2 separate regions of the Homo sapiens genome follow, and region 2 is linked to region 1. Evidence: promoter capture Hi-C in human tissues and cell types (Jung and others, 2019). All regions are on one chromosome and are shown on one strand. Each heading gives the region's core, a stretch centred on a gene start or on the middle of the fragment in contact. The rest is flanking DNA. Distances are from core to core; before and after follow the strand shown. Region 1 holds the start of ASAP3 (ArfGAP with SH3 domain, ankyrin repeat and PH domain 3). Region 2 overlaps LOC124903876 (a long non-coding RNA gene).

Region 1 (4,481 bases), core at 537-3,036:
ATGCCTGTAATTCCAGCTGCTTGGGAGGCTGAGGAATGAGAATTGCTTGAACCCGGGAGGCAGAGATTGCAGTCAGCTGAGATCGCACCACTGTACTCCAGCCTGGGAGACAGAGCAAGACTCTGTCTCCAAAAAAAAGATGCATGCTTTATATGCATTGTCTCATGTGAGGTACACATTATTACCCCCATTCCACAGATGACAGGACAGGTCACATGCCCACGTTCACCCAAATGGCAAACTGCAGAGCCAGCGTTTGAAAAAAGGTCTGCCTTGGCCGGCGCGGTGGCTCACGCCTGTAATCCCAGCACTTTGGGAGGCCGAGACGGGCGGATCATGAGGTCAGGAGATCGAGACCATCCTGGCTAACACGGTGAAACCCCGTCTCTACTAAAAATACAAAAAAAAAATTAGCCAGGCGTAGTGGCGGGAGCCTGTAGTCCCAGCTACTCGGGAGGCTGAGGCAGGAGAATGGTGTGAACCTGGGAGGCGGAGTTTGCATTGAGCCAAGATCGCGTCACTGCACTCCAGCCTGGGCGACACAGCGAGACTCCGTCTCAAAAAAAAAAAAGGAAAGAAAAAAGGTCTGCCTTCCCCAAAGTCGATGCTCCTTCCACAATCCTCTATCACCCTTACAAAGTGATACAAACAGACTCCGAGATGGAGGGTCACCCTGACAAGAGAGAAGAGGACAGATTTCCTGACACTGGCGCAGGGTGTTATGAACTACTGAGCTTTGTATCTGCCACGCAGTGGGTGCCTAGTACACTTAAGGTGAAGGGTGGAAGGCTAGAGCCGTTGCTGAGGTCCAAAATGCCACCCAAATTGAGGGCATCCTTTGGATGGGGAGCTGCAAAAACACATTATTCTCCGTTGGACCAAGGCCACGGGGTGTCTGTCCTAGAATATTCTTTGCAGAGGAGCTGCGGAAAGCTGCAGCAGGTTCAGAGAAGAGGAATGGAAGGAACTCCGAAGAGCATGGGAATGGGGTGGGGCAGCCTGCAAGACCGAAAGAAAAGGCCTGGGACGCTTTGCTGGGAAAGACAAAGAGGAGAGGGGAGGGGAGAGGAGACGATAAACTTGCCAACAGCCCGGCCAAGGTGAACCCCGGCTCCTGGCGCCTTCCCATCCGCATTCATTCCACAAACGCGGGCCAAATCTCCGAACCAGCCGCAAGCGGGAGGGGGCCTCTCTGCAGCCGGGGGGAAGAAAGTTCAGGACTGAGGCGGGAAGCCTGCCTCTCAGAAGGGGAGTGACTCGGGGGGCACACTTGTGGGGCTCCGAAGATGAAAACGCAAACTGAGGCTGGAAGGCGCTAGGCAAACACATATGTGATGAGGCGGTCACGCGGGGCACTTGGGGTACGTCCCCCGACCTGTGGAGTTTGTCATCGAAGAGACCTCGAGGCCCCCCAAAACGGTCCCTCGGGCCTTCCCCCGCCTCGACGGTGAGGACGCAGCTGTTGGAGATGCGCTCGGTCCTCCCAGACCTAGGGAGGGGGCAGGTTTCGGGGCGCGGTGAAGGGCCATCGCAGCTCGGGTGCGACACGCCTGTGGAGGTCAAGGCCAGGCCCGGCGCCGACCCCCGACCCCTCCCGCCTCGGCCCCCTCACCTCCTCCCGCGCCAGCGCCGCCCCTCGGTACCGGGGCATCTTGGCGGCGAAGGCGGCGGCCCCAGCCGGGGAGCTGAGGTCCTCCGCGGTGACGGCCAGGAACTCGGCGACGCTGAACTGCTCCGGCATGGCGGGCGCGAGCGTGGAGCTGCCGGAGCGGGGCGCGGGGGGCACTGAGCTGCTCCGCGCTGAGCCGGCCTCACCGCCGGCCGGGGGCGCCGTCCCGGCCTCCACACGCCCCGCCCCTCCGCACGCCCCGCCCCCGACCCTCCAGCCGCTCTCCGCTCCTCAGCTGGGACGGCCCCGCCCCCGGCTCCTCGCCTTCCTCCACCGCCAAGGTCCAGGCTCCGGCCCCGGTCCCGGCCCCGCACCGCGTCAGGCCGCTTCCCCGGCCCCTCGCCGGCCCCCTAGGCCACGCCCCCAGCCCCTCACCGCCTCAGACCCCGCCCCCTGGCGCGATGCCCCACCCCTGGCCTCAGTAGAAACTCCTCCGCCTTCCCCCATCCCTGCCCCTTCAGGGCTCTGTCCCGTTTCATCCCGCTCTGGGTCTTCCAAATCCTCCTCCCTTGCACGGCCCAGGCTGTTCCATCTCCGCGTCGAGTCTTAGAGCCCCCTCCCTCTTCCTCCCTCCTCTGCTGATTCGTTCCGAGTTCCCCATGACCTCGCCCCTTCTGCCCTACCACCCCCCCGCCACCCTTCCCTCCTCTCTCCCCAGTCCCGCCCAATCTCCTTGCCTCGCTCCGCCCCGAATCGCCCCACCCCTCCTTTGCTGCGTACGCCCAGCTCTCAGCCTCAGCTTTGCAGGCATCCGGAGACTCCCTCCTGATAACCCCCGCCGCCCCGGGGATGTGTGGATCGGGGCCCCTGGCTAGCTGTGTGACTTGGGGAAAATTACTTCTCTTCTGGAACCTCAGTTTCCTTATCTGTACAATGGGAAGCCTGATGCCCGCTTGATTGTGATGTTGCGAAGAACCGAACACGTGCGTGTACTAGTTCCCTCTTACCCGACCATAGATCGCACCCACGCCTTTACTCTTCCTGCTCCTGCCTTTCACCCCTTAATCTGGCTCACCATCCTTTGGGGCGGATGAGGGATGGGGTTCAGGATAGAAATCCACTTAGGTTTAGTTCTGAAGCCTGAGGTCCTCTGGGGAAAAGTTCTCCAAGTAAAAAGCTAGGAAAGCACCGCAGCAAGGAACATTGGTTTTGGAGTCAGAGGAACCTAGATTCCAATCTTGGTTACTTTGGATAAATTGCTTGCTTCTCTAAGCCTGCATTTCCCCCTCTTAAAATGGCCTCATGGTATTTTACCCCACAGGGCGGCGATTGAGAGAATCTTTTCTTTTCTCGCACAGAAAAGAAAAGAAAAGAAAAAATCCGGAAAGATATGCACTAAAATGTTGCACCAGCAACATTTTATGCACTAGCTGAAGACAGATATGCACTAGCTGAAGACATTATGAGTAACTTTCTTTTCTTTTGGTGAATCTGTATATCCTAACTTTTATACAATGACCATATACTACTGTGTAATAGAATTAAAAGTTGACGGGAGCGATGGCTCATGCCTGTAATCTTAGCACTTTGGGAAGCCGAGGTGAGCGGATTGTTCAGGAGTTCAAGGCCAACCTGAGCAACATGGCGAAACCTTGTCTCTACAAAATATACAAAAATTAGCCCGGCGTGGTGGCTCTTGCCTGTAGTCCCAGCTACTTGGTGGGCTGAGGCAGGAAAATGGCTTAAACCTGGGAGGTCAAGTTTGCAGTGAGCTGAGATCCTGCCATTGCACTCCAGCCTGGGTGACAAAGTGAGACCCTGTCTCAAAAAAAAAAAAAAAGAAAAAGAAAAAGAAAAGAAAGAAAAAAGAATTAAAAGTTGAAAAAAATGTGTACCATCTGATAGAGACGACAACTATTCCAAGAGTTCTTTCAAGGTCAACTTCTCCTGTTGAAACCAAATAGGCACTTTTCTTGTTATTTATTTTTAGAGACAAGGTCTCACTCTGTCGCCCAGGCTGAAGTGCAGTGCAATGATCATAGCTCAAGGCAGCCTCAAACTCCTGAGCTTAGGCACTTTTCTTGCTTGACTTTTAGGAGCATCTGACAATGTTAACCACTCCCTTCTCCTTGAAACACCCTTGCCCCTGAATCCTAGGAGAACTATTTTCTTTGGTGGCCCTCTCCCTCTGGCTGTTCCAAGAGCCCTTTCTGAGATGCACTTCCTCCGCAGGGATCTTAAATGCTGGAGTTGTTGGGAGCTCTCTGCTAAATCCTCTGCATGTCTCACTCTATCAGCCTTCCTGGATTTCTTCATCCAATCCCAACGGTAATGTTGATGTCTTCTGTACTAGTTTCCTGTTGCTACTATAACAAATCACCAATAACTTCCCTCAGCCTCCCGAGTAGCTGGGATTACAGGCACGTGCCACCACACCCAGCTAATTTTTGTATTTTTTAGTAGAGACGGGGTTTCGCCGTGTTGGCCAGGCTGGTCTTGAACTTCTGACCTCAGGTGATCCGCCCACCTCGGCCTCCCAGAGTGCTGGGATTACAGGCATGAGCCACTGCGCCTGGCCACATTTATTCTTTTACATGTCTGGAGGTCACAAGTCTGCAATAACTTTCACTGGGCTAAAATCAAGGTATCAGTGGGGCTGTACTTCCTCTGGATGCTATAAGGGAGCATCTGTTTTCTTGCTTTTGCAGCTTCGAGAGCTGTAGTTTTTGCATTCTTTGGCTTATGGCACCTTCCACCTTCAAGGGCAGCAGCATCTTCAAGCATCTTACTTGCCTTCTTCCCTGTGATCAAATTTCTCCCAGCCTCCCCACCCCTCTTCTTTTTGTTTTTTTTTTGTTTTTTTTGAGACGGA
Region 2 (4,413 bases), core at 875-3,374, 68 kb after region 1:
TTACAAGGACGGGTGAGGTGGCTCATACCTGTAATCCTAGCACTTTGGGAGGCCAAGGCAAGTGGATTGCTTCAGCCCAGGAGTTAGAGACCAGCCTGGGCAATATGGCAAAACCTTGTCTCCATTAAAAATATAAAAATTAGCCAGGTGTGATGATGGGTACCTGTAGTCCCAGCTACTTGGGAGGCTGAGGTGGGAGGATCACTTGAGCCTGGAAGGCCGAGGTCACAGTGAGTTGTGATCATGCCACTGCATTCTAGCCTGGATGACAGAGAGAGACCCTGTCTCAAATATAAACAATAAAAATAAAACAAAAAATTGTTTAAAAGTTTACAACAAGATTTATACACAAGAATGAGGATAAGAAGTAGCTGGCTCCGGCCAGGCACGGTGGCTCACACCCATAATCCCAGCACTTTGGGAGGCCGAGGCAGGTGGATCACTTGAGGTCAGGAGTTCAAGACCAGCCTGGCCAACATGGTGAAACCCCGTCTCTACTAAAAATACAAAAATTAGCCTGGCATGGTGGTGTCCACCTGTAATCCCAGCTATTCAGGAGGCTGAAGCACAAGAATCGCTGGAACCCAGGAGGCAGAGGTTGCAGCAAGCCGAGATCACACTACCACCCTCCAGCCTGAGTGACAGAAAGAGGCTCTGTCTCAAAAAAAAAAAAAAAAAGGTAGCTGGCTCCCCTTTTGCTTCCTCTTCATGAAATTATAAGGGCTGCCAGTTGGGAGCAGGTACTCTACCTCTGTTGTCTTATTTAATTCCTACAACAACCCTATGGGAGAGGTAGCATTGAAAGTTTACAGATGAAAACCTGAGGCTCAGGGAGGTGGTGTCATGTAGCTGGTCACACAGCTAAGAAGTGGCAGAGAAGGATTTAAATGCAGGTCTGGCTGATCACGAAGCTGCTGCTCTTACCTACACAGTTACACCAACCCTGGCCTCCACGTTCTCTGGCCTCTGGGTTATGTTCTTCCTCCCCACAACTCCTATTCTCTTCAAGAGAGGGTAGTTTCATGAGTGAGCTGGTTCTGGGTCAGGCTGAGCCAGGGGAGGCTCACAACCTCTGAAGCTCTGTCCCTCCAGCAGCCAAAAGCACACTTGTCATGAAATAATTACAAATTCCAAGAATGAGAAAGTAGTAATTAGGCACTGACTGGGAGCTTGAAGATCTGGATTTTTATCCCCAGTTCTGTGAGGGAATCTTTGCCTGAGTCACTTTCCCACTCTGGGACTCAGTTTCTCCATGTGTGAAATGAATCTAGTAATGCTTCTTGAGTGCCTGCCACGTCCTGGCAGGCTTTTAGGTGCTTTACATTCAGTATATCGGCACACAACTGTGGACAGGGTTCTTACAGTATTACAGGGAGGAGACTGAGGCTCAGAGAGGGGAAGGAGCTTGTCCAGGGTGGCAGAGCTTGGGAGTAGATGTGCTGGACCAGAGCTCTGCTTTTAGTCTCTGCACTGTTTATATTTATTCCTCAAGCCACTGGGCTTCGACGCTGATCAGATGCTGCCAGGCTGAGTGAAAGGGCTCTGCATATAGAGCGCCAATGCTGGACAAGAGTCCCGGGGTGCTGTGACTGGGTCATGCCAACCACATTGCCACTCTGGAAAGAAGAAGAAGGAATAAGGCTAGGAATCTGACACCAAGCCCAGCAAACTCTGTGGTGGGGGTCATCTGGAGCCTACCAAGTACCAGATGCTTTACATATGTCATCTAATTTAATCATCAATTCAACCATGTGAGGCTCAGAGACGACAAATAACTTACCTGTGGCCCGGTTCGGTGGTTCAGACCTGTAATCCCAGCACTTTGGGAAGCCAATGTGGGAGAACTGCTTGAGCCCAGGAGTTTCAGACCAGCCTAAGCAACATACAAAAAAAAAAAATTAGCCAGGCATGCTGGCGCACACCTGTAGTCCCAATTACTTAGAAGGCTGAGGTGGAAGGATCACTCGAGCCCGGGAGGTCAGGGCTGCAGTAAGAGCAGCGATCATGTCACTGCAGTCCTGCATGGGTAACAGATTGAGACCCTGTCTCAAAAAAACAAAAAGAAAACAAAAAACTTACCTGTGATAGCACAGCTGGTAAATGACAAAGCTGAAGTTTCAACCAGTGTCTGTATGTTTCCCAGACTCACAGAGAGAACGTAACAGGATTACTGCTGTGGCTGGAAGAGGCCAATTCTGCAGCACCCACCGGTTTGCATGAAGTTTCAAAACAGCTGCAGACATCCAAAGCACTGGGTAAGGAGGCCATCCTGTAGACTGTGGCTCTGACAGTTACTCCAGGGTGACCTTTAGCAGGTCCCCTAACACCTATGAGCCCTGAGGGGGGTGAAATGGAAGCACCCCCCAACCAGTCCACGTTACCACATAGACTGTAAAATGCCGCCCACTAGTGAATGGCCTCTTTTGAAACACTTTCTTGCTGTTCTCTTTGTATATGGAGTTGAACCTGCAGTGGAAAATGTGATTGACAGGGATTAACATCTAGGCCCCTTGGGGCCCACCTGGATGAACCCTCAGTGGAAGCTGGGATCATGAACAATGGATATGGAACCACTGTAAGACCAGGTGGCCCCTGGCCCTGATGAAGAGAGTCAGGGTGTATGTGGGGTGGGGAATGGAGCAATATGGTTGTCTGTCCTGATGGTCCTGAATCTCTCATCTCTTCCCTGCATAACCTACAGTGGCATGTCTTGAAACCCCCTTTTTTTTTTGGAGATGGAATCTCACTCTGTTGCCCAGATGCTCAGCTCACTGTAACCTCTGCCTCCTGGGTTCAAGTGATTCTCCTGCCTCAACCTTCCCTTCCCAGTAGCTGGGATTACAGGCACGTGGCACCATGTCCAGCTAATGTTTGTATTTTTAGTAGAGACGAGGTTTATCATGTTGGCCAGGCTCGTCTTGAACTCCTCCCCTCAGGTGATGTGCCCCCCTTGGCCTCCCAAAGTGCTGGAATTACAGGTGTGAGCCACCGGCCCGGCCTTGAAACCCTTTTTTTGATGCTAGAAATGGCATAGGTATAGGAGGCCGGGCGCGGTGGCTCACGCCTGTAATCCCAGCTCTTTGGGAGGCCGAGGAGGGCGGATCACGAGGTCAGGAGATCGAGACCATCCTGGCTAACATGGCAAAACCCCGTCTCTACTAAAAATACAAAAAAAATAGCCAGGCGTGGTGGTGGGTGCCTGTGGTCTCAGCTACTCGGGAGGCTGAGGCAGGAGAATGGCGTGAACCAGGGAGGCGGAGGTTGCAGTGAGCTGAGATCGCGCCACTGCACTACAGCCTGGGCGACAGTACGAGACTCGGTTAAAAAAAAAAAAAAAGACGAAAAAAAGAAATGGCACAGGCATAGGAAACAAACCAGTATTCAGAAATAACTTGGATCGGTGAGTGGGGAGGTTATTCTGGGGAGTCTGCCGTGCCTTGGGTACCCTCATTGCCACACAAGGCACATTTTTAGCCCCAAAGGGACCAACTGCCAGCTGGCCAGCGACCACCTCAACTCCGGGTAATGAGTTCCATATGTTTCCATAAGAGCCCAGCTAAGCTTTTCCCCAGCAGTTCTTACAGTGTTCTCTCCCTCCCTGCCTCATCTCGATGCTTGGCCACCCTTGTTCTATTTGCTCCTAACGAGGGTGGCAGGGAGGGGGCTAGGTGGGCAATGCCAAGAGACAATGCTTTGGGAAGTCACCCTTCCCTGACTTCATTTTTGCAGATCCTCAAGCTAAGAGGCAGTCTCTCGGCCTCTCCAGGCTTCCGCTGCCCCATCTCTATAGTGGGAAAAACAACCCTTACTCAGGGTAGGGAGAGCATCACGAAAAGAGCCCTGGATAGTAAAGTGGGAGGCTGGTGTTCCAATCCCAACGTGAACACTAACTTGCTGTGTGTCCCTGAGCAGGTTCCTGCCCCTCTCTGGGCTACATTTGTGACCTCTAAGGGCCCGCCCTTCCATCCCTGACAAGCTTCAGAATTACAACAAATGACTTAAACAGCAAGGAAGAACATCTGCTTTCCTGGGTGGCTTCAGGGTAGGGGTCCCCAGGAAGCCTAAGGCCTCCCTACCCTGGCCACCCTCACTCTAAGCCCAGGCTCCCTTTGACAAGTCTGGCCGGGTGAGAGCTTCTGCCTGCAGCATCGGGCACAAAGTAGAAGCAGGGTAGCAGTGAGGAGAGGCGTCCCCCGATGGAAGCACAGCTCCACAGCTCAGAAGGCGGAGGCGGGGGGGCGCCTATGGTCAGCCCCCAACGACGGCGAGAGGTGAATATGAGTTCAGGGGACTTCAGAGAACTCCTCCCTCCTTAATCTGGTTTGTCAAAGGCAACCCCCAAAGTCCCGGTCTCAAGGTGTCTCACTACCCTGATCCCGACTGCCCACCGACCCTACCCAAACACGGACTCAC

The links. Contacts are between HindIII fragments. The study calls those that stand out against the background at their distance.
Region 2: a contact is called between a fragment that was not itself captured here and the fragment with the promoter of ASAP3 in region 1, in 4 of the 25 tissues and cell types used here (IMR-90 fibroblasts, aorta, lymphoblastoid cells and 1 more).

What each region holds. Positions count from the first base shown.
Region 1 is chr1:23,482,393-23,486,873 of GRCh38, forward strand. ASAP3 (ArfGAP with SH3 domain, ankyrin repeat and PH domain 3) reads right to left here and starts at 1,787. Exons shown (of 25, transcript NM_017707.4): 1 at 1,613-1,787. The coding sequence starts at 1,741. RefSeq lists silencers at 1,622-2,071, 2,192-2,301, 2,312-2,361 and an enhancer at 2,552-2,651. The HindIII fragment of the contact is 29,915 bases long and covers 1-4,481 here.
Region 2 is chr1:23,549,841-23,554,253 of GRCh38, forward strand. LOC124903876 (a long non-coding RNA gene) reads left to right here. Exons shown (of 3, transcript XR_007065537.1): 2 at 2,144-2,255. It overlaps LOC105376859 (a long non-coding RNA gene), which reads right to left. Exons shown (of 5, transcript NR_188656.1): 2 at 2,080-2,233; 3 at 1,781-1,873; 4 at 925-1,616. Among named protein-coding and RNA genes, the nearest start is that of ID3, 7.5 kb to the right of the region's middle. The HindIII fragment of the contact is 7,566 bases long and covers 1-4,413 here.